7 separate regions of the Homo sapiens genome follow, and all the other regions are linked to region 2. The links are contacts of gene promoters, found by promoter capture Hi-C in blood cells and fetal thymus (Javierre and others, 2016). All regions are on one chromosome and are shown on one strand. Each heading gives the region's core, a stretch centred on a gene start or on the middle of the fragment in contact. The rest is flanking DNA. Distances are from core to core; before and after follow the strand shown. Region 1 overlaps ACOT9 (acyl-CoA thioesterase 9). Region 2 holds the start of ZFX-AS1 (ZFX antisense RNA 1). Region 3 overlaps PDK3 (pyruvate dehydrogenase kinase 3). Region 4 overlaps PRDX4 (peroxiredoxin 4). Region 5 overlaps ACOT9 (acyl-CoA thioesterase 9). Region 6 has its middle 11 kb from the start of PRDX4. Region 7 overlaps PDK3 (pyruvate dehydrogenase kinase 3).

Region 1 (3,274 bases), core at 619-3,118, 420 kb before region 2:
ATTGATCATCTTATCCTAGGATCAAACACTTTTATAAATTGAAGGATTTGGGAGATCCTCCAATCTGACTGCCCCCTCAATTTTAAGATTTGGTGAAGAAATCAAAGCCCGAAGCAAGCCCAGACCCACCAGACAGCTTGTTACCACTCCACAGAGACTCAGTGCCCAAATCAGAGTAAGAACTCAGCACATGAGTCTGACAGTATCAAACATCTTCAGGAAAGAGAAACAAAGCACAAGGACTTGGCTACCTGTTTTCCTCCTGGCTTTGTCCTAATTAATCATGAAACAATTATTTCACTCAGTTATCCCTCCTTCCCCATAACACCCTTGACTCCTATACCACCCTGTGGTTATCTGTATACTTTCCATATTTTAACAAGCATTTATATGTGCCATGCATGGTTCATGCACCTTACAGATATCAACTCATTTAAAGTCGTATAATTATACGTTGGGCCGGGCGCGGCGGCTCAGCCTGTAATCCCAGCACTTTGGGAGGCCAAGGCAGGCGGATCACGAGGTCGAGAGATCGAGACCATCCTGGCTGACATGGTGAAACCCCATGTCTACTAAAAATACAAAAATTAGCCGGGCGTGGTGGCGTCCCAGTTACTCAGGAGGCTGAGGCAGGAGAATCAATTGAACCCAGGAGGCAGAGGTTGCAGTGAGCCGAGATCGTACCACTGCACTCCAGCCTGGCAACAGAGCAAGACTGTCTCAAAAAAAAAAAAAAAAAAAAAAAAGTTGTATGATTATATGTTGATTGGCTCCCTGCTTCCCCCATGATCCATTCAAATTTGTATCACAAACTCTCAGACAAGATATGTGGCTCAATAAATACTTGTTGAGTAAGTGTAAATCCTTCCATCTATGCACCTGCTAAAGGACACACTGGGGGAATGATAGGCTAAAGGCAATAAACTCCATTTAAAAGTCTTTGTCCAGCAAAGAAATCAGATGGCTCCAACCTATGGCAACAGGAGTAGAAATGAAAAGACTATGAGTTAAGAAGAAGGTAAACCTGAGAAGACTTGAATAAATTCAGTTTTCTAGCTTGCATAGGTAAGCGTGGTGTACTAGTCACTGAAAAAGAGAAGAGAGACTGGGCACAGTGGCTCATGCCTGTAATCCCAACACTTTTAGAGGCGAAGGCAGGAAGATCACTTGAGCCTAGGAGTTCAAGACCAGCCCAGGCAACACAGCAGAGACTCCATCTCTACCAAAAACACAAAAGTTAGCCAGGTGTGGTGGCACATGCCTGTAGTCCCAGCTACTCGGGAGATAGGTAGGAGGATTGCTTGAACCCAGGAGGTCAAGACTGTAGTTAGCCATGATCATGCCGCTACACTCCAGCCTGAACAACAGAGTAAGACTCTGTCTCAAAATAAAAAGAGAATATAGGAAGAAAAGAATGGGCCATTTTCAATGCGTTGAATTTGAAGAGCCTATGGCACATCCAAATGAAGGTATTGGGGAGGGCACAGTTGTTCACACCTGTAATCCTAGGGCTTTGCAAGGCCATAGCAGGAGGATCACGTGAGCCCAGAGCTTGAGACTAGCCTGGGCAACAGAGTGAGACCCCTGTCTCTACAAAAAACTTTAAAAATTAGGCCAGGCATGGTGGATCAAGCCTGTAATCCCAGCACTTTGGAAGACAGAGGCAGATGGATCACTTGAGCCCAGGAGTTCCAGACCAGCCCAGGCAACATGGTGAGATCCCGTCTCTACAGTAAAATACAAAAATTAGCCAGGCATGGTGGCGTGTGCCTGTGGTCCCAGCTACTTGAGAGGCTAAGATGGGAGGATGCTTGAGCCCGAGATGTCGAGGATACAGTGAGTGGTGATCGCACCACTGGACTCCACCCTGGGTGACAGAGCAAGACCCTATTCCAAAAAAACAAAACAAATTAGCCAGGCATGGTGCAGTGTGCCTATAGTCCCAGCTACTCAGGAGGCTGAGGCAGAAGGAACACTTGAGCCCGCAAGTTTAAGGTTGCAGTAGGCTATGATTTTACCACTGCACTACAGCCCGGGCAACAGAGTGAGACTGTCTCTAAAAAAGAAAAATAAATCTAGTAGCTAAGAGGAAAAATTGATTGAAACTCAGAAAAGCAGGCCAGAAAATGTAGCTTTGTAAGTATTCAGCATACTGATAGCAACTGAAACACTGGGAGTAGATGAGTTTATAGAGAATCTGCAACGTCAACCCAAAAAAGGGCAGAAGGGAAGGGTAGAGAAGAGACGGAGGAAAATGTAATATAAATGTAGTTTTTACCACTGATCAGTACACTTAAAAATGATAAAGATGAGCCAGGCGCGGTGGCTCACACCTGTAATCCCAGCACTTTGGGAGGCCGAGGTGGGGGGATCACCTGAAGTCACGAGTTTGAGACCAGCCTGACCAACATGGCAAAACCCCATCTCTACTAAAGATACAAAAATTAGCTGGGCGTTGTGGTAGATGCCTGTAATCCCAGCTACGTCGAAAGCTGAGGCAGGAGAACTGCTCGAACTCGAGAGGCAGAGGTTACAGTGAGCCGAGATGGTGCCACTGCACTCCAGTCTAGGTGACAGAGTGAGACTCTGTCTCAAAAAAAAAAAAAAAAAAAGATAAAGATGGTAAATTTTATATTTTAACCTCAACTGAAAAAATAGGGCTGGGCGCAGTGGCTCACACCTGTAATCCCAACACTTTGGGAGGCCGAGGTGGGGGGATCCCTTGAGTCCAGCAGTTTGGGACCAGCCTGGGCAACATGGCAGACCTTGTCTCTACTAAAAATCAAAAAAATTAGCTGGGCATGGTGGTGTGCACCCGTAGTCCCAGCTACTCAGGAGGCTAAGGCAGGAGGACTGCTTGAGCCAGGAGGTCAAGGCTACAGTGAGCTGTGATCACGCCACTGCACTCCAGCCTGGGTGACAGAGTGAGACCCTGTCTCAAAAACTAAATAAATAATTTTAAAAGATTTAACAATTTTATTGTTAAATTTTAAAATGCCTTAAAATTTAATTAATATGAACAAATTATAAAATTCAAAAGGCCGGGCGCAGTGGCTCACGTCTGTAATCCCAGCACTTTGGGAGGCCGAGGCGAGTGGATCACCTGAGGTCAGAAGTTCGAGACCAGCCCGGCCAACATGGTGAAACCCCGTCTCTACTAAAGATACAAAAAATTAGCCGGGCGTGGTGGTGTGTGCCTGTTATCCCAGCTACATGGGAGGCTGAGGCAGGAGAATCCCTTGAACCCGGGAGATGGAGGATGCAGTGAGCTGAG
Region 2 (3,429 bases), core at 642-3,141:
TGTGGGCGGCCGGGCACGGTGGCTCACGCCTGTAATCCCAGCACTTTGGGAGGCCGAGGCGGGTGGATTACCTGAGGTCAGGAGTTGGAGACCAGCCTGGCCAACATGGTGAAACCCCATCTCTACTAAAAAAATAGAAAAATTAGCCAGGCGTGGTGGCAAGTGCCTGTAATCCCAGCTACTCGGGAGGCTGAGGCAGGAGAATCGCTTGAACCCCGAAGGCAGAGGTTCAGTGAGCCAAGATCACGCCATTGCACTCCAGTCTGGGAGTGCAAGAAATATTAATGTGGGCACACAAGCTATTTCTCATTTTTTTTTATTGAAACAACATTGCTTAGTTTCATTTACCTTTCTGTGAAATGTCTTTCTGTGAAAGTCTATCACAGCCTGATGTAATTTTTATAAACAATGAATACATGCTGTTACTATTTTTGAAAGGAAATTTAATCGCTTGGAAAAATTCAGACTAAAGCCCCGAGAGGAAAATTATCATCCAGTGCATGCTCAGAGATTTCTTCTTACTCTACTTTTGTTTTTCCTTTTTGAAAGCATTTGTGATTGAGAGATGTCTGAGGGAAGGGACAAATTGCATTCTGGGAGTTTTAAAGAGTTATGTCAGGCAACTAAAATACGTGGCCTCTGTATTTAAAGAGATTTCACACCAGTATACTATTTGCTTTATAATTTTTGTGTTTCTTATTGTTTAAAAATGCCTTTAACATTTAGTGCTGTGTTAAAGGATAGCATGCCAGATTCCAGATTAATGTAAAGACTCCACTATTTAACTTTTCCCTAGTAACTTTAAAACAGAGTTTGGGTTCCAAGTTCAGCATGGAAAGATAGCATAAACATTTAAACTAAGTAAAGTGCGAAATACACATTTTTGAAGTTGGTAAGTGCTGTTTAATCATTTTCCCCTTCTCTCCCAAGTCTTTTGAAACTTCAAAAGGCTTGTTTAAGCAGTGTGTTTAAAAAAAAAAAAATCCATACCCAATTGGGCTCCTCTCTATTAAGGAATGTGGAAAATTCATGATTTATGAAACGATGACACCAGTCTTACATTTCACAGGCTCCCAAGCTCTGAAACACGGGTACATAGGAAAATACACAGAAAATTCCTGTTCTTTGCAACGTGCGAAACGTTTCAAAATGCAACTTTGCTCATCTCCCTCCCCCGTACAAACTAATAAAATCAGTTTGGCTCTGACTGCTTATTTTTAAAAAGTAGACGGCCTGGTAGGTGCTCTAGGGATAACCCTTCTCCCCCCACTCCACCCCCCTTCCCGCACACCCATTTAGACTGGCAAGCCCGTTTTCATTTTATTTCAAAGATTTTTTTTTTTTAAGCGAAGGCAGGGGACGGCGGGGGTTGCTAAATTTATCTTCCTCCCCAGCCACGGGGATGAAGAAAACACATTTACTGCGGGCGGGGGTCTGAGGGCCTGCAAACAACTCGAGCTGGAGCCTCGGCCAGGACCGGCGCGAGAGGCGGTAGGTCTCCAGGGAGGCCCCCGGGGGGCGGCCGCGGCCCACGGGACATGGTGGGGGGCGGCCGGGCCGCCTGCCTCTCCGCGGGGTCGGCCGACCGCGGCCCCGCGCGGGCTTTACGGCCGAGGCGGCGGCGGCAGCGGCGCGTGTGTGGCGGCGGCGGGCGGGAGCGCGGAGGAGGTGGAAAGAAGGGGGGCGCTGTCACGGAGACTCCGGCCGCCGGAGACCCCGCCGCAGCGAGGCCACTGGGCTCCCCGGTCGCGGGGCGGGAGCGGCGCCGACACGGGGTGCCAGGAGGACCCACCGGGCGGAGGAGGGGGCCTGTCTACCCTTCCGCATTTTCCTGGGTCTCTCTCCCGGGCGGTGACGTGACGTGCTGACGGCGGGCCCGTGCCGGGGAGCTGGGCCGCTTTTTGTCAGCTCCGAGCTCGGCCCCTCCTCCCTCCCTCCGCCCGCCCCACCAGCCGGAGCCCGGCCCAGTGCTCCAGAGAAAGGCCGGCCTGCAGCACCCGCCACCGTCGCCGGCCGCCCGCACGTCCGTCCGGTGAGTCCCGGGTGCCGCCGCGGCCGCGGGGCCTAGTGCGCGCACAGCGGCCTGGTCTCGGCCTGGTCGGCGGCCCGCAAGGCGCCCTCCCGCGCTAGGCCGGGCGGCGTGGCGCGCGGCGCCGAGCAGGCCCCGAGGAGGCCGCAGTTAGGCCCGGGGAGGAGCCCGGCTGCCCCGAGCGGCGGCGGAGGCGCGCTCCGTAAGCGGGCGGGGGTTGGGGGAGGGTCGCCCGGTTGTGCCGGAGGCGGTCGAGGGGCCCCGGGTCGGCTCCGCGGCCGACCTGGGGCACCGCGCCGGGGTGAGGCCTGGCGAGGAGGCGAAGGCTGCAGGCGTGAGGTGAAGGCCGCAGGCCGGCCGGGCCGATTTTCGCTATGTAAATATCGGTGAGGGGGGGGGAGGGACGGGGGACAAGATGGCGGCGGCTCGGCGCCTGCTGCAGGGGACGATAGAGGGGGTTGCCGGGAGGGGGAGCCGCCATCTTGGAGGCGGTGTCTGGAGAGAAAATTCCGCTACAGCCCGTGAGGGGGGGTGGGAGAGCGGGCGGCGGCGGCAGCGGCGCCGGTGACGGGCCCCGGAGGCCCGGCGCGGCGGCGTGTGCGCGCGGAGGGGCGTGCTCGCTCCCCGTGGCGGCCATTGCCCTTGCCGCCATGATGAGCGCTCGGGCTCCAGGCGCTCGGCGGCAGCGCCACCTTCCTGCCTTGCCTCCCGCAGCCCCGTGACTGGCTGCAGTTTCCGCTGCGTTTCAGCTGAGCTGCCGCAGGCGGCCACCGCCGCCGCCCGGACGCCGGGACCGTTTCACCCTCAGCGCCCCTGGCCCTGCGCCTTCCCCCGCGCCTGTAGCCACCCGAGGGCAGTCGGGGCAGGTGGCATTCCGGACACCTGGGCTTACCAGGGCATACGGGACCCCAGGAAATGTTATTTTTGCTTAAGTCAAATCATATGTGGCTGCTAAGGTGCTTTCGATGCAGTTGTTTTTCCAACAATCTTTGCCGCCCCGAGTATCTGAATAAAGGAAGAAAAATAAAGATTGATGGGAAAGTTTTTGCCATTCTTTTGTCCTATAGGGAAAAAAATTGCACAACACGAGAGCGGAGGAATAAAATTTTGAATCATTCGTACTCATTTATGTGGAAACAACTTTCTTGAAAAACGATTTAAGTAGTGATCTGTTGGTGGTATTTTTTTAAATCGAGGAATAAGGGCAGACTTTTTTATTTTCTTATTGGAGGACAACTTAGTGTGGTGCATATTTATTGTGCATTTGCCTGTCATGGTATTTCGATTTTTCATTTGTGAAGTTTTAAGGCGGAGTTTCATCCCCTAACGTACTTTTTTGATTGCACACTGTGCAACTTTCTTGATAAACTCGGAGCCTACTGTTAGCGATGCACCGTGCT
Region 3 (3,275 bases), core at 431-2,930, 350 kb after region 2:
GAGCCATGAGTAGCTAGTTCTAGTCTAGTTGTAAACTAAAATTCAAAGGAAAAACAAAAGCCCTCACCTATTTTATACTTTGTTGGGTGTTTGTCTGATGGATCTGTGAAGTGTGGAAGGCAGGGAAGCATTGGGTTAGAGCCCCAGATGTAGCGTTTTCCTTGATATAAGCCACTGCTGTCATTTAAGCGATTATTAAATGAATTCAATCCAGGAGCTTTGTTTTCTCAAAAGTCATTAGCTGGTAACCGTTTGGCAGAAATCCTAAAACCTAGGGCTGACCACTGTAGCTCCAAATTTTAGAACAAATTTGTAGAAGTATAGTTGGTCCTTTGTACTGGCAGTTTCCACATCCTTGGATTCAACCAGCCACAGATTGAAAAGATATTCAGGAAAAAAAAAAGCAATAAAAAATAACAATGCAACAATAAGAAATAATACAAAATTTTAAAATACAGTCTATCAACTGTTTACATAGCATTTACATTGTATCAGGTATTATAACTAGTCTAGAGATGATTTAAAGTATCCGAGAGGATGTGAGTAGGCTGTATGCACTATTTTAGATAAGGGACTTGAGCATCTGAGGATTTGGGTATCTGCGGGGATCCTGGAACCAGTCCCCTGCGGATACTGAGAGACGACTATACACGATGTTAAATTTCTGCTGTGTTTTTCCCGGAGTCCCGTCTCAGTTTCTGGAACAGGTTATCCGATGTGATTTATGGCCACGAGCCTGCTTTGCAAACTGTCAGTGCTGAATCCAGTGTGTGCTTGACGATAGCAATAATAGCTGAGCTCTCACTCCGTGAGTTTTGTAGCTTGCCTAGGTTCATGTGGTTAGTTATGATAGTTGGCATTTGAGAAGGCTGATGTTCTTGGTGAAGGAAGGAGTGAAAGGTGAGCGAGTATCATGGTAGCAGCCTTTTCTGTTTACCAAGAGGTTGTATGGGATCACCAGCAGGGAAATCATTTTAGTAAAGCAAAAGTAGCTTAGAGGACAAGCTTGTTGATCATTTATGATAGAGTTTAGAAGAGCCCGGAAGATTGGAGGAGAATTCTGAGCATTGAGCCATTGAGGTAAGTCTCCCCACTTCAGATAAGTTGAGGCACTTCTCTACTATAATGAATCGTTTCACTTTAGTAATATTTAACTTACAAATACATTGCAACGAGTATTACATAAAGGACAAATTGTCTATTATAAAATTTTTTGTGAATGACGATGGCCTAATTTCAGAGTTTTACATCTTTATTGTCATTGTACGTATGTATTTGTTACAGAAATATTTCGTCAAATATTTCATCAAATATTTCAGAAAAATAAGACTATTGAGATAAGTAAAAAGAAAGTCACCCCAAATTTCTACTACCAGGGGACAACCACTATTACTATTTTCCTTTCTTCCGTGCTTTTCCCTAGGCATGCATATATTTATATGCGTAAAATATTTTTACAAACATAACAAGTGTCAACATTATAGATCTACACCATTATTAATAGTTTCATAATATTCATGTTAATAGTCCATCTTCAGATAGTTCATGCAATTTGATCTTCTATCACTGGATTTTAGACTGGTTTGTAGTTTTCATGCTACTATAAACAATGCTTTAAAGAACAGCTTTTAAATACATCTGTTGGCCGGGCATGGTGGCCGACGCCTGTAATCCCAGCACTTTGGGAGGCCAAGGCGGGCGGATCACCTGAGGCCAGGAGTTCGAGACCAGCCTGGGCAACATGGTGAAACCCTGTCTCTACTAAAAATATGAAAATTAGCCAGGCGTGGTGGTGGGCACCTGTAATCCCAGGTACTTTGGGAGGCTGCAGGAGAATTGCCTAAACGCGGGAGGCAGAGGTTGCAGTGAGTCAAGATTGTGCCACTGCACTCTAGCCTGGGCAACAGAGCAAGACTCTGTCTCATAAATAAATAAACAAACAAACAAACAGCTGTTCACCTTTTCCAGTTATTTTCCTAGGATCAATTCCTCCAAGTGGAATTATTTTCTTTGGGCTTTTGCTGTATGTTGCTGATTGTCCTGAGAAGTGCCTCAGTTAAGCCCCAAACTCTAGCTGATGCTGATACGTGGAGAATAATAAGTATCACATTGTTTTGATTTGCTTTTCTTATTTGTAAGGGTGACGTTATTGGCATTTGTGCTTCTTCTTTGGTAAATTTTGCATTGATAGCAGATCCTTTGCCTAGTTTTCTGATGGGGTGCTAGTTTTTTCCTTTTTTTAAGTTTTTTGTTTTTTTTCTACTTCATTTATTAATGTGTGTCCCTATAGGATTGCTAAAATTCTACATAGTCATATCATTTGTTTCTTCACATTATTTGTTTCTACCTTTGATATTAAGCTTAGAACAGCCCTCCTTATCCCAAGATTATGTACTTATTCACCTGATTTTTCTGTTATCATTTCTGTGATTTCACCCTTTTACATTTTTAATCCAGTATTTGGTTTTAAGTCTTGAAATTAGGATGTGACTGAAATTGTTAGCCCGCTGTTCCAGTTAACTTGATTATTAGTTTGATTGTTTACCTACTGATTTGCAATGTCACTTTCTCAATATGCTCGATTTTTATATATACATACTCACTCATGGGCCTGGTCCTAAACTTTTTATTTAGTTCCATTGACTGACTTGTCTTATACCATTCTTAATGTATTTTCCCATATGCATATTTACAATAAGATGCCAGATACTTGAATAGTTTAATTTCCTGTGTTCTGTCTGCATTTCATCACTGTATTTTACTGCTGCGAGATATTTATTTCCAAATTTTACTCTTAAACTGTATGAGACACTTTAGGAGGCTGAGGTGGGCGGATCACGAGGTCAGGAGTTCAAGACCAGCCTGGCCAATATGGTGAAATCCTGTCTCTACTAAAAATACAAAAATTAGCCAGGCGTGGTGGCGTACACCTGTAGTCTCAGCTACTCGGGAGGCTGAGGCAGAAGAATTGCTTGAACCCGCGAGGTGGAGGTTGCAGTGAGCCGAGATCACACCACTGCACTCCAGCCTGGGTGACAGAGTGAGACTCCGTCAAAAGAACAAACAAACAAAACCCAAAAAACAGTGTGACATTATTTCTTTATTCATGGAAGCTATTGCTTTGAGATTGCTTTAATCAGTCCTTGGAGATTTTGTGGGGATTGTCCTCATGTTCTCAGAAGAAGTACTGATATGTTCTGCAATTCTTTATTCAACTTTTATAGAACCTGTGTTATATGCAATCACTTATCCAAAAAGTCTGGATTCCTAAAAGG
Region 4 (3,070 bases), core at 1-2,500, 470 kb before region 2:
GTTAAATGCAATAGATGTGATTTCTATAGCGAAAACCACTGAATTATATGCTTATGATAAATTGGGTTACCATAATCTGGAGGAAAAAAATCTTTAAAATATGCCATTTCTCTGTTACACAGTTATATAGTCAAACTCAGCTTTTACAATTTTGAAGAAACAATACTTTTTAAAAATGAATTTTAAAAAATGTTTAAAAATTCATTAATCATAAAAAGATGTTTTACCTAAATTCGTTATAAAGAATTGCAAATTAAAATGACGAGATGCCAATTTTCCCTGTCTGGTTGGCCAAGATTTAAAAGATTGAAAAAATGTATCCACTGTGGACAAAAATTGAAGAAACGGCACTCACACACAGCTGTTTAGCATTTCTGGAGAGCAGTTGGGCAACATGTCTCAAAATTGGAAATTTACATGTTAATATGAGTTTTTATAGTGTCCACAGTCTTGTGCAGAAAACTTTGTGCACAATAAAGACCATTCAGAATTGGGCTGGGCACAGTGGCTCATGCCTCTAATCCCAGCACTTTGGGAGGCCGAGGCAGGCAGATCACCTGAGGTCGGGAGTTCGAGACCAGCCTGACCAACATGGAGAAACCCCGTCTCTACTAAAAATACAAAATTAGCCAGGCGTGGTAGCAGGTGCCTGTAATCCCAGCAACTCAGGAGGCTGAGGCAGGAGAATCACTTGAACCCAGGAGGTGGAGGTTGCAGTGAGCCGAGGTCACGCCATTGCACTCCAGCCTGGGCAACTGGGCAATGAGAGTGAAACTCCATCTCAAAAAAAAAAAAAAAAAAAAAAAAAAAAAAAGATTCAGAACTATTGGTTTTAAAACATAATATTCAATTTATTAAAGTTACAAATTTGAAACACAAGCTTTTCTCATTTATAATCTGTGTGTGTATAACAAATTTTCATTGCTTGGTGAGCTACAATTTAATTAATTACATTTCCCTAAGAAATTAATTCCCATAAGTATTTTTAAATGCAGTTATATATTTAATATATTTGAATTCCTTAAGTATCTCAATTTTCAGACAAACCTTCCCAAATACTTAAGTAGTTCTAATATGCCAAATTCTCTTAAACATTATAAATAACTTAACATATAAATATGTACTGATTATTTCTTAATGTAAAAATATTAAAATAGCCTGGCATGGTGGCTCACGCCTATAATCCCAGCACTTTGGGAGGTCAAAGCAGGAGAATCATTTCAACCCAGGAGTTCAAGACCAGCCTGGGCAACATAGTGAGACCCCATCTATACAAAAAATAAAAAAAATTAGCCAGGTCTGGTGGTGCATGCCTGTGGTCCCAGCTACTCGGGAGCCTGAGATGGAAGGATGACCTGAGCCTAGGTGGTCGAGGCTGTAGTGAGCCAAGATCATACCACTGCACTTCAGCCTGGGCAATAGAGTGAGATCCTGTCTCAAAAAAAAAAAAAAAATTAAAATATAGGCTTAATTTGCTTCATCATTTCCTTTAAAAAAAGAAAGACAGGGTCTTACTATGTTGCCCAGGCTGGAGTGCAGTGGCACAATCAATCATAGCTCCCTGCAGCCTTGAACTCCTGGGCTCCAACAATCCTTCTACCTCCCCAAATAGTTGGGACTGCAAGCTTGCACCACCATACCTATTTTAATTTTTATTTTTGTAGAGATGGAGTCTTGCCATGTTGCCCGGGCTGTGCTTCATCACTTCTGTAGTAATTATAAATCTTCCGAGGATTAAAATGCATATCCACTAAGGAAAAAGTTATGGCATCCCAAATAATTTGGGATTGCTTTCCCAAGGAAATTTGGGGATACATTCTCAGCCTGATAGGGTTCACATCAACCAGAAATTTCTACTTGGGTGTCAGAACTGGGGCTCCAGATATCTAGAGCAATGTCGTTTTGTTTTCTATCTGCTGTGTCAGTACCCTCCTGTTAGAGCATCAGCCCATGTCTCCTGGTTTCAAGTTACAGAATACAGATTGAGCGTCCCTAACCTGAAATCCACAGTGTTCCAAAATTCAAAATTTGAGTGCTGACATGATGCTCAAAGGAAATGCTTAGTGAAGCATTTCAGAGTTCAGATTAGGGATGTTCAACCAGTAAGTATGCAGATATACCAAAATCGGAAAAAATCCTAAATCCAAAACACTTCTGGTCCCAAGCACTTCCGATAAGGGATACTCAACCTGTAGTGAAGACTGAGGCATCTGATATTATAACTCACTTCCTTCACTGCTTCAAGTGGACTTTGCATTTGTCTCTCAGAATATTAAAATGTCATCCATTTGTATCCTGCCTGTCTGTTCAAGGCTTTATCTTATGATCACACTACTAAGGTTATGCTTTTGATACTACGTATCTTTTGATCTATCAGTTTCACTTTCAGAAATCAATTAGACAAGTGTATAAAAGTAAGAATACAAGGATGTTTTCAGCAGTGTTTATAAAGCAAAAAAAAAAGGTAAATGGTTTAAATCTTCATCATGGAATTAAGTAAAATACAGTAAAGATGTTCCTGACTTACGATGGTTTGACGTATAATTTTTCAACTTTACAGTGGGTTTATGGGATAGTAAATACATTTTTAGCTAATGATATTTTCAATTTATGATGTGTTTATCAAGACACAGCCCCAGCCGGGCACAGTGGCCTGTAATCCCAGCACTTTGGGAGGCCAAGGTGGGCGGATCACCTGAGGTCAAGTGTTTGAGACCAGCCTGGCCAACGTGGCGAAACCCCATCTCTATTAAAAATACGAAAAATAGCTGGGCGTGGTGGCGGGTGCCTGTAATCCCAGCTACTTACAAGGTTGAGGCAGCAGAATCACTTGAACCTGGGAGGCAGAGGTTGCAGTAAGCCAAGATCGTGCCATTGCACTCCAGCCTGGGTGACAGAGCAAGACTCCATCTCAAAAAAAAAAAAGAAAGAAAGAAACAACCCCATCTTAAGTCAAGGAGTATCTGTGTATCCATACATTAAAAATGTGTTATAGGCCAGGCGCGGTGGCTCACGCCTGTAATCCCAGTACTTTGGGAGGCCAAGCCGGGTGGATCACCTGAGGTCAGGA
Region 5 (3,324 bases), core at 440-2,939, 450 kb before region 2:
TCTCGCTCTGTCGCCCAGGCTGGAGTGCAATGGCGCCATGTCGGCTCACTGCAATCTCTGCCTCCCAGGTTCAAGCGATTTTCCTGCCTCAGCCACCTGAGTAGCTGGGATTACAGGCACCTGCCATCATGCCCAGCTAATTTTTGTATTTTTAGTAGAGACGGGGTTTCACCATGTTGGCCAGGCTGGTCTTGAACTCCTGACCTCAGGTGATCCGTCCGCCTCGGCCTCCCAAAGTGCTGGGATTACAGGCGTAAGCCACCGCTCCCGGTCAAAAATTCTCCTTTATTCTTTGAGAGGGACATAACACTAATAATCCAGAACCTAGTGTATATCCGTTAGTTTGCTTCACCTCATCTTCTTAAAAGTCCTGTATTAAAAACCAAAACCTCTAGCTTTTATATCTGTATTGGTAGAGGACAGATTTGGGGTGAAGATTCTGGTATCCAAAATTACGTGAGCAATTTAACAAAAAGACAACAAAAACAATAAGCAATTTAATTTCAATCTCAGTAGAATTCAGAGAAAGGCAATTAACAAATGTCAGTTTTCTTTTTTTGGGGGGGTGGGGGGGGACAGGGTTTCACTTGTTGCCCAGGCTGGAGTGCAGTGGCGTGATCTTGGCTTACTACAGCCTCAAACTCCTGGACTCAAGCAATGCTCCCAGTTCAGCCTCCTGGGTAGCTGGGACTACAGGTGTGCACCATCACTCTGAGAGGAGTTAGCTAGCTTTCCTTAGGTAGACAGCAAGGGAAGGGTCCCCAAAGAGCCCCCAACCCACGGGTCAGTGCCTCATCCCCACAGAACAGAGAAAGCAGCCTGGGGATAAAAATCAAGCTGCAGGCACCGATAAGGGAAGTAGCACAGGGTGGTGGTGTGCCTGGAGACAAGCCCGCGGCTGCACAGATCCGAGAACCTCCAGCCCACTTAGATAAAAACTTGCACAAACCTCCAGCTCACTCAGATAAGGGAACAAGACCTGACATAGAAATGTCTTTGTCTTTTGTATAATCAGCAGGTTCCCGGGAAAAAGTTTCTTCTCCTTTCGTGGGCATTAATACTGTGGGCTCCGACGACTCCGATGGGCACTTTCCTTTCCTCTTTCGACTGTGAGCCCGGCCTCTAAGAATTACTTCAGCACGATTGGTCCCCGGGCCAAGCTTTCACTTCAGCTCCTGATAGGTCCCGGGCCAAGCTGAGTGGTCTCAATGAATCATCAATTCAGCTCCTGATTGGTCCCGGGCCAAGCTGAATCTAGCTTTCTCCAAGACAGCTCACAGACTAAGCAAATTCCTTCCCCTTCCCAGTCCGCAAAAACCCCCGACCCCAACCTCATAGTGGGCAACCCGTTCAGGCCCCCACTCTCCGCTGCGGAGAGCTTTTTTTTTTTTTTTTGAGACGGAATTTTGCTCTTGTTGCCCAGGCTGAAGTGCAACGGCGCGATCCTCAACTCACCGCAACGTCTGCCTCCCGGCTTCAAGCGATTCTCCTGCCTCAGCCTCCCAAGTAGCTGGGACTACAGGCGTGTGCCACCACGCCCAGTTAATTTTGTATTTTTAGTAAAGACAGGGTTTCTCCATGTTGGTCAGGCTGGTCTTGAACTCCGGACCTCGGCCTCCCAAAGTGCTGGGATTACAGGTGTGAGCCACCGAATCCAGCCGAGAGCTTTCTTGTTTTGCTTACTAAACTTTTGCTCCAACCTCACCCTTGTGTTCGTGCTCTGTGACACAAAGAACTCCGGATACTATCTCAGACAACCAAAGACTGCTACATTTTGGCGCACTGGTGAGACTACAACACCTTGCTAATTTTTGTATTTTTGTAGAAACAGGTTTTCACCGTGTTGCCCAGGCTGGTCTTGAACTCCTGACCTCAAGCAATCTGCCTTGGCCTCCCAAAGTGCTGGGATTACAGGTGTGAGCCACCACATCCAGCAGAAGGTCATTCTTCACCTATCAAAATGGCAAAGATATTTTAAAAAGAAAAGATAAAAATTGGCAAAGTTCAGGGAAATTGCTGATGTGTAAGTGATTGTGTGAAACTGTTCTGAAGGGTTACATGAAATACATATTCAAAGCCTTCAACGTGTGCCTACTATTTGACCTAAATATCTCATTTAATATTTTTCCAAAGAAAATAATTTAAGGGTCAAATGTTTTAGAGTATTTAGGATATTTACTGCAACATTGTTTATAATAGCAAAAAAGAAATACTAGAAAAAGCTTCACTGTACAGCAACAAATGGTTAAATATATAATGTATAATCTATACAATAGCATGCAGTAGGTCTCTTAACTCCACTTAACACATTCACAAAACTCCCCAGGGCGCATCCCTCCCCATTAGCCACCTCCCATCATGTCATAGGTAGATATGCAAAATGCTATATTGAAGGGCCAGGTAAATCTCAGTCAGGATGGCATTACGGCATGGAGAGACAAGTTATTATAGTACAGCACATGCTTGATTCCATGAGTCAAACTGCATGCTTCCAAGAGATAGTTGTGTTCGCTCCTGTGACTATTTCATGCCAGAGGTGCTTGTTGACACTGTGATTTCAATAAACATTACATAAACTAATATAAAAAAATTGCTTGAGACAGGGTCTTGCTGTCACCCAGACTGGAGTGCAGTGGCATGATCATAGCTCACTGCAGACTCAAACTCCTGGACTCAAGCAATCCACTCACCTCAGCCTCCTAACTGGGACTACAGGTGCACACCACCATGCTCAGATAATTTTTTAACTTTTTGTAGAGAAAGGGTCTCACTATGTTTCCCAGGCTGGTCTCAAGCGATCCTCCCATCTCAGTCTCCCAAAGTGCTGGGATTACAGGCATGAGCCACCACTGTGCCTGGCCTAAAAATTTTTTGTTAAAAATGCTTTCCACCGGCCGGGTGCAGTGGCTCATGCCTATAATCCCAGCACTTTGGGAGGCCAAGGTAGGTGGATCACCTGAGGTCAGGAATTTGAGACCAGCTGGCCAACATGGTGAAACCGCCTTTCTACTAAAAATACAAAAACTAGCCAGGCATGGGGGCTGACACCTGTAATCCTAGCTACTCAGGAGGCTGAGGCAGGAGAATCGCTTGAACCCGGGAGGTAGAGGTTGCAGTGAGCCAAGATCATGCCACTGCACTCCAGCTGGAGCGACAGAGTGAAACTCTGTCTCACACACACACACACACACAAAAATACTTTCCACCTAATTCTGAGGCAGAGCCAAGTTTGTGAACACTAATGTAGAACCCACAATAAATATTGCTTCCTTCTTGGGAGGACTTTTTTCAGAGATTATTTTTTCTTCTAAGTTACCTTCCTGT
Region 6 (3,020 bases), core at 364-2,863, 490 kb before region 2:
ATAAGCCTCTCAGTCCTCCTGTGATTAGCAATGTGGTCATGGCCAGACTGGCTTGGAACATAGGGTGGATCATAGATGATGGGGTGATCTTCACCCCTTGTCCTCCAGCACAACTGACAGGACTCCCTCATCTGCTAACCAAGGAGCCCAACACATATTGCCTCACTGGGCATTTGCCCATCCTCAATATCACTTCTTTCCTACTGACTGTAGGAGCGGACCTCAGTACATTTCTGTATAATAGACTGTCCCTGCCACCACTTTATCAATGAGGTCTGCTACTGCTCCTCAAGTCCTGTTCCATACTTGTCCAATCAACCTGTGGGATCTCACTTGTATTTTTTCCAAAAGGGCACTATGACCTTATCAGCCTCCAGGAAAAGGGAATTAAAAATATGATGGAACCAATCTGTGAAAAACCAGGTGTGGCAGAGCCCCATGTAGTTTTCCCTCTTTTACTTTAAAATAAACAGGCCAACTTTTGCAGCCATTTTGTAGCAATAACTGTTCTCTCAGGAACACAGAATACTTTATTTGGTGAAAGACAATAGTTGTTCTTTGACTACAAATGGGATTCAGTGAGGGAAACCACTTACATTATTTCAAGTATCATAACTGGTAGGTAAGCCCCGGATTTTGTTGGGGATCTTAAGTTTCCCTTGCTGGTGTGCATCCGAGGCCATAGGGTTGACACCTTCAGTTTGCCAGTTGAGAGATTATAACACAGTGAAAGCATTAGGCATAAGAGGAATTTTTCAGGCCGGGCACGGTGGCTCACGCCTGTAATCCCACCACTTTGGAAGGACGAGGTGGGTGGATCACAAGGTCAAGAGTTTGAGAACAGTCTGGCCAACATGGTGAAATCCTGTCTCTACTAAAAATACAAAAATTAGCTGGGCATGGTGGTGCATGCCTATATTCCCAGCTACACGGGATGCTGAGGCAGGAGAGTTGCTTGAACCCAGGAGGCAGAGGTTGCAGTGAGCCAAGATCACGTCACCGCACTCCAGCCTGGGTGACAGAGCAATACTCCATCTCAAAAAAATAAATAATAATAATTTTTCACCGATAAGATTTGAGCATTCACAATTCAACATATAACACATTTCAAAATTAATTACACATTAGTAAACAGTGCATACAATGAATCAGCTCACAGGCCTCTCAATGATAAGATCACTTTTAACTTTTTTATCTTTTCGCTACAAGTTCTACCAGCTGCATTCAGACAATTTTTATAGAAACAAAGACTATAAATAATTTTTACACAGACACTACAATACCGGCTTCCAGGAGACCATCTACTCTCCTTGGCTGGAAGCCCAGAAAATAAAGAGGTGCGAGACACACCACGAGAACAACTGGCACCAGTAAGCACGAGTTTGTACTTGCTTTCAGCCATCCTCTGGGGTTACAAAAAAGGTACCTTTAACAATAATTAGGCACCAATTAAACAGATGATTTCAATCTTACCTCTTGCTGCCTAACCTTCCAAACTTTTTCAACAGGTGACATACACTATTGGACCCCAAAGAAACTATCTTATCTTCCCCCTAACTTGGCCCACACACAGCAGGCCCATTTACCCCTACCTTGGCCCACTGTTGGACAGTGGGAGGACCCCTACACTCCCACTCACCCATCGTGTAGACAAGGATTCCAGGGAGCCTTGATCTCTCCTAATCCACCCTATCTGTGTTACACAGTCATAAGAATCTCATCTCATTCAATGGCTTGACCACAGTAAGTCCAGTGCCATGGATCCCTGGTGCCTTATCCATCCTAACATGGAATTTACAATCTCCTAGTGGAGGAACTTTATTGCCCCTCTTGCCTACCACTTAGGTGAGAAGATGTGTCTTAGAAACCAACCTAACTAGTGTGCTGTCTTGTCTAATAAAAGGGCCAACTTTTTCAGCCACACATTCCAGACCAGATATGTCATCTCATGCACAGAGACATGCAAGGCCAAGGACAAGGCCCAAATTATTATTCCACTAAAAACTCTAAAAACACACTTTTACAGCCGGCTGCAGTGGCTCACGCCTGTAATCCCAGTACTTTGGGAGGCCAAGGCGGGTGAATCACTTGAGGTCAGGAGTTTAAGACCAGCCTGGACAACATGGTAAAACCCCATCTCTACTAAAAATACAAAAACTAGCCAGGTGTAGTGGCACACATCTGTAGTCCCAACTACTTGGGAGGCTGAGGCAGGAGGATCACCTGAGCCTGGGAGGTGGAGATTGCAGTGAACAACGATTGTGCCACTGCACTCCAGTCTGGGTGACAGATCGAGACCCTGTCTCAAAAAAAAAAAAAAAAAAAGAGTGGTGGTCAAGGGGAGAGGAGATGAAGACAGGAAAGGCAAAAAGAGTTACTATATCCTCACGCCTGTAATCCCAGCACTTTGGGAGGCCGAGGCAGACAGATCACGAGGTCAGGAGATCGAGACTACGGTGAAACCCCGTCTCTACCAAAAATACAAAAATAAGCCGGGCGTGGTGGCGGGCGCCTGTAGTCCCAGCTACTCAGGAGGCTGAGGCAGGAGAATGGCTTTAACCCGGGAGGCGGAGCTTGCAGTGAGCCAAGATCGCGCCACTGCACTCCAGCCTGGGCGACAGAGTGAGACTCCATCTCAAAAAAAAAAAAAAAAAAAAAAAAAAAAAGAGTTACTATATCCATCCTGTTACATATATATACACATCACTGACAGGATGACAAAACCCATGAATGCTCCAGTTAAGAGTTCATGGAAATGGGCTGGGTGCAGTGGCTCACTCCTATAATCCCAGCACTTTGGGAAGCCAAGGTGAGAGGATAGCTTGAGGCCAAAAGTTCAAGACCAGCCTGAGCAACATAGTGACACCTTGCCTCTACAAAAAAATAAAAATAAAAATAAAAAAATTACTAAATATAAATAAATAAAAATAGAGTAGGCTGAAACGCCTCAGTCTTTAGGAGCATAGGGTTTTGATTGATATAGTACATTGGGCTTCTAACTGGTTAGAAGTGACAACAGG
Region 7 (3,027 bases), core at 133-2,632, 330 kb after region 2:
CTGCATTGGTCATGTGATGTGCTCATGTGAGCACTTTATTTGTAATAGACTCTTCTGGGAGGAAGCTGCTTGTCTCAGGGAGTCTCCTGTTCTCTAGAAATTGCCCTTCATGGCCAGGGTACTGCTTCTTTTGTTAGAGCTCCTTACATATTCTCTACCGTGTTATCTCTGGCCTACATACTCCTATTCCTGTTTCTTTGACCTGAGCTTGACTTCAGTGAAGCTATTGGAGAAGGAAATTAAAATGGACTCTTGGCTGGGCACAGTGACTCACACCTATAATCCCAACACTTTGGGAGGCCGAGGCAGGCAGATCACCTGAGATCAGCAGTTTGAGACCAGTCTGGCAAACATGGTGAAACCCCATCTCTAATAAAATACAAAAAAAAATTAGCCAGGCGGTGGCACGTGCCTGTAATCCCAGCAACTTAGGAGGCTGAGGCAGGAGAATCGCTTGAACCAGGGAGGCAGAGGTTGCAGTGAACCGAGGTCGCGCCACTGCACTCCAGCTTGGGCGATGGAGTGAGACTCCGTCTCAAAAAAAACAAACAAAAAAAAAAGGACTTTATATGGCACCTGAAAAAGATTCAATAGATTCGACTAGCACTTACTGAGTACTTACCAACTAAAACAGGATATCATCTAATTCTCACAACAGCCATGCCCATTTTACCAATTAGGAAACTGAAGTTCTGAGCGGGTAAGAAGATGACTCACACGTATAATAGGTAGTAGAGCCACATGTCTGCCCGCCTGATCGTCTTACCACCTCTTTATAGCAGAGAAAGTAGGTGAGGGATTGGGCGCAGTGTGTGAGCAAAACAAACTGGAGGAAAGGACCATCGAGTGCATTGTCACCGCCTCCCAAGCATTACCACATCCTGAAGCACAGCCGTTTCCTTCTCGAGTTTGTTTAGTTTTTATCTTCCCCATTTAAGATCATCTGAAAGTGAAAGGGAAAAAAAGAGCTGACACTGAAAAGTCTCTTACAGAGTACAAAGATGTTTGTGATCAGTTTCCCAAGAGGCTGAAATAAAACTCAAAGGTGAAAATAAAGACAACAGTACATGGGTAAATAAAAAATTGGGGATGCTTAATAGCCATTGTCTGGGCTTGAGGAGTTCTTTGATTTGTTTACCCTCATTGAATTTTCTATGATTAGATGCTAGTCCATGGTTCTCAGTCCTGGCTGCTCATGAGAATTGTCTGGGGAGCGCCTGAAATGAGTGACACCTGCTCCCTACATAAACCAATTAAATCAATTGCTGCGGGTAGGAGTCTAGGTGCTGGTGCTTTTGGGTTACCCAGGCGATTGTGTAATAATATTCTTCCAGAGTTAAAACCACAGTGTTAGAGCTGGTGAAATTTTTGCCCAAGAGCTATGAACCACTTTAGGGGATAGAGTCTGTGAGTGAGATGCCAAAGGTTAACACCGAAGTCATTCTGGAGTCCATCAGCATTAGTTGAAAGTTCTGGATTTGGAATGAAATGGAAACTAAGAAGCATTGGGAAATTGCCAAGGCATATTCATTGCCTTTGAGGAGCTCATAGATAAATGAGAAGCTGGGACAAATACATAAATTTACGTATGCTAGTCAGAAGGATGAATCATATAATTTTGTGGTATCTTTTTGCTGCTGTCCCTACCTCGCCCTTAAAGGTTTTTGAAATAAGGGTGGTTTCTGGGAACAGGTAAGGTGTTAACCCAATTGTCCTTTATCCAAAATGTTGTTGGAGGCTTTCTGGATGGAGATCACAAAGAGAAGAACAAAATGTAAATGTGCATACTCTTTTTCTTTTTCTTTTTTTTTTTTTTGACAAAGTCTTGCTCTGTCGCCCAGGCTGGAGTGGAGTGGCGCGATCTTGGCTCACTGCAAGCTCCGCCTTCCGGGTTCACGCCATTCTCCTGCCTCAGCCTCCCCAGTAGCTGGGACTGCAGGCGCCCGCCACTGCACGCGGCTAATTTTTTGTATTTTTAGTAGAGACAGGGTTTCACCGTGGTCTCGATCTCCTGACCTCGTGATCTGCCCGCCTCGGCCTCCCAAAGTGCTGGGATTACAGGCGTGAGCCACCGCGCCTGGCCCCTTTTTCTTGACTTCCACCTTTTTTCCTTGGCTGTTTACTCCTAGCACTGCTCTCCAGAGTTTTCTTAGAATTTATATTAGTAGGCAAGGTTAGTGTATGATAAATAACTGTATAGAGAGACAAACAAAAATCTTATCCTCTTAGACTAATTCAGTGGGAACTTGAGCTTAGAGACTGATGTGGTTTGGCTCTGTGTCTCCACCCAAATCTCATGTTGAGTTATGATTTTCAGTGTTGGTGGTGGGGCCTGGTGGGAGGTGATTGGATCATGGGGGCAGATTTCCCCCTTGCTGTTCTCATGATAGCGAGTGAGTTCTCATGAGATCTGGTTGTTTAAAAGTGTGTAGCACTTCTCCCTTTGCTCTCTCTCTCTCCTGCCACCATGTGAAGATGTGCTTGCTTCCCCTTCGCCTCTGCCATGATTGTAAGTTTCCTGAGGCCTCCCTATCCATGTGGACTGTGAGTCAATTAAACCTCTTTCCTTCATAAGTTACTCAGTCTCAGGTAGTTCTTTCTAGCCACATGAGAACAAACTAATACAGAGATCATCTGTAATCTTCCCAATTTTACACATGAGAAAGTAGAAGCCCCAAGTAAGGAAGAGACTATGCCAGTCATCAGCTAGTTTTTGGTATAACATCTTGGCCACCTCTTCCAAAGGGAACCAGAAATTATTCTTTTTATGAGGCCAAGGGAACTTACATTTGTGTGCCACTCTCTGCTAAACACAATAGTGGTTAGCTGTAATTCTCACAGCGTCCACATTAAGTGTTTCCATTTCTTGGATGAAGAGTCTAAAGCTTAGATAGTTTAAGTCTCTTACCTAAGCAAAGTTAGGGGCAAAGCCATGGTTAAAATTCAGGTAGAGTGAGGTTTGTTTGTTTGTTTATTTTTTGGAGACAGAGTGTTCCTCTGTCGTCCAGGCTGGAGTGCGTGGTGTGA

What was found. The method cuts DNA at HindIII sites, captures the fragments that hold promoters and counts their contacts. A CHiCAGO score of 5 or more calls a contact.
Region 1: a contact is called between a fragment that was not itself captured here and the fragment with the promoter of ZFX-AS1 in region 2, in 5 of 17 cell types (total B cells, total CD8 T cells, naive CD8 T cells and 2 more). The highest score is 7.8, in total B cells.
Region 3: a fragment that was not itself captured here is called in contact with the fragment with the promoter of ZFX-AS1 in region 2 in 1 of 17 cell types (total CD4 T cells); the score reaches 5.0 in total CD4 T cells.
Region 4: a contact is called between a fragment that was not itself captured here and the fragment with the promoter of ZFX-AS1 in region 2, in 10 of 17 cell types (naive CD4 T cells, naive B cells, non-activated CD4 T cells and 7 more). The highest score is 10.6, in naive CD4 T cells.
Region 5: a fragment that was not itself captured here is called in contact with the fragment with the promoter of ZFX-AS1 in region 2 in 9 of 17 cell types (naive B cells, total B cells, total CD8 T cells and 6 more); the score reaches 8.8 in naive B cells.
Region 6: a fragment that was not itself captured here is called in contact with the fragment with the promoter of ZFX-AS1 in region 2 in 2 of 17 cell types (total B cells and non-activated CD4 T cells); the score reaches 6.1 in total B cells.
Region 7: a fragment that was not itself captured here is called in contact with the fragment with the promoter of ZFX-AS1 in region 2 in 9 of 17 cell types (fetal thymus, total CD4 T cells, activated CD4 T cells and 6 more); the score reaches 9.9 in fetal thymus.

The regions. Positions count from the first base shown.
Region 1 is chrX:23,722,878-23,726,151 of GRCh38, forward strand. All of the region lies in intron 6 of ACOT9 (acyl-CoA thioesterase 9), which reads right to left. Among named protein-coding and RNA genes, the nearest start is that of ACOT9, 19 kb to the right of the region's middle. The HindIII fragment of the contact is 5,864 bases long and covers 1-3,274 here.
Region 2 is chrX:24,147,763-24,151,191 of GRCh38, forward strand. It overlaps ZFX-AS1 (ZFX antisense RNA 1), which reads right to left and starts at 1,892. Exons shown (of 3, transcript NR_046657.1): 1 at 1,793-1,892; 2 at 991-1,080. ZFX (zinc finger protein X-linked) reads left to right here and starts at 1,967. Exons shown (of 10, transcript NM_003410.4): 1 at 1,967-2,032. RefSeq lists enhancers at 1,304-1,403, 1,610-2,423 and silencers at 1,514-1,873, 1,934-2,343, 2,364-2,413, 2,464-2,973. The HindIII fragment of the contact is 5,789 bases long and covers 1-3,429 here.
Region 3 is chrX:24,499,789-24,503,063 of GRCh38, forward strand. The region is part of intron 3 of PDK3 (pyruvate dehydrogenase kinase 3); the gene reads left to right. Among named protein-coding and RNA genes, the nearest start is that of PDK3, 36 kb to the left of the region's middle. The HindIII fragment of the contact is 1,355 bases long and covers 1,004-2,358 here.
Region 4 is chrX:23,675,354-23,678,423 of GRCh38, forward strand. All of the region lies in intron 3 of PRDX4 (peroxiredoxin 4), which reads left to right. Among named protein-coding and RNA genes, the nearest start is that of PRDX4, 9.4 kb to the left of the region's middle. The HindIII fragment of the contact is 745 bases long and covers 879-1,623 here.
Region 5 is chrX:23,698,900-23,702,223 of GRCh38, forward strand. ACOT9 (acyl-CoA thioesterase 9) reads right to left here. Exons shown (of 16, transcript NM_001037171.2): 16 at 2,156-3,324. Among named protein-coding and RNA genes, the nearest start is that of PRDX4, 33 kb to the left of the region's middle. The HindIII fragment of the contact is 1,062 bases long and covers 1,159-2,220 here.
Region 6 is chrX:23,654,963-23,657,982 of GRCh38, forward strand. No RefSeq gene overlaps it. Among named protein-coding and RNA genes, the nearest start is that of PRDX4, 11 kb to the right of the region's middle. The HindIII fragment of the contact is 6,235 bases long and covers 1-3,020 here.
Region 7 is chrX:24,479,248-24,482,274 of GRCh38, forward strand. All of the region lies in intron 1 of PDK3 (pyruvate dehydrogenase kinase 3), which reads left to right. Among named protein-coding and RNA genes, the nearest start is that of PDK3, 15 kb to the left of the region's middle. The HindIII fragment of the contact is 3,002 bases long and covers 1-2,883 here.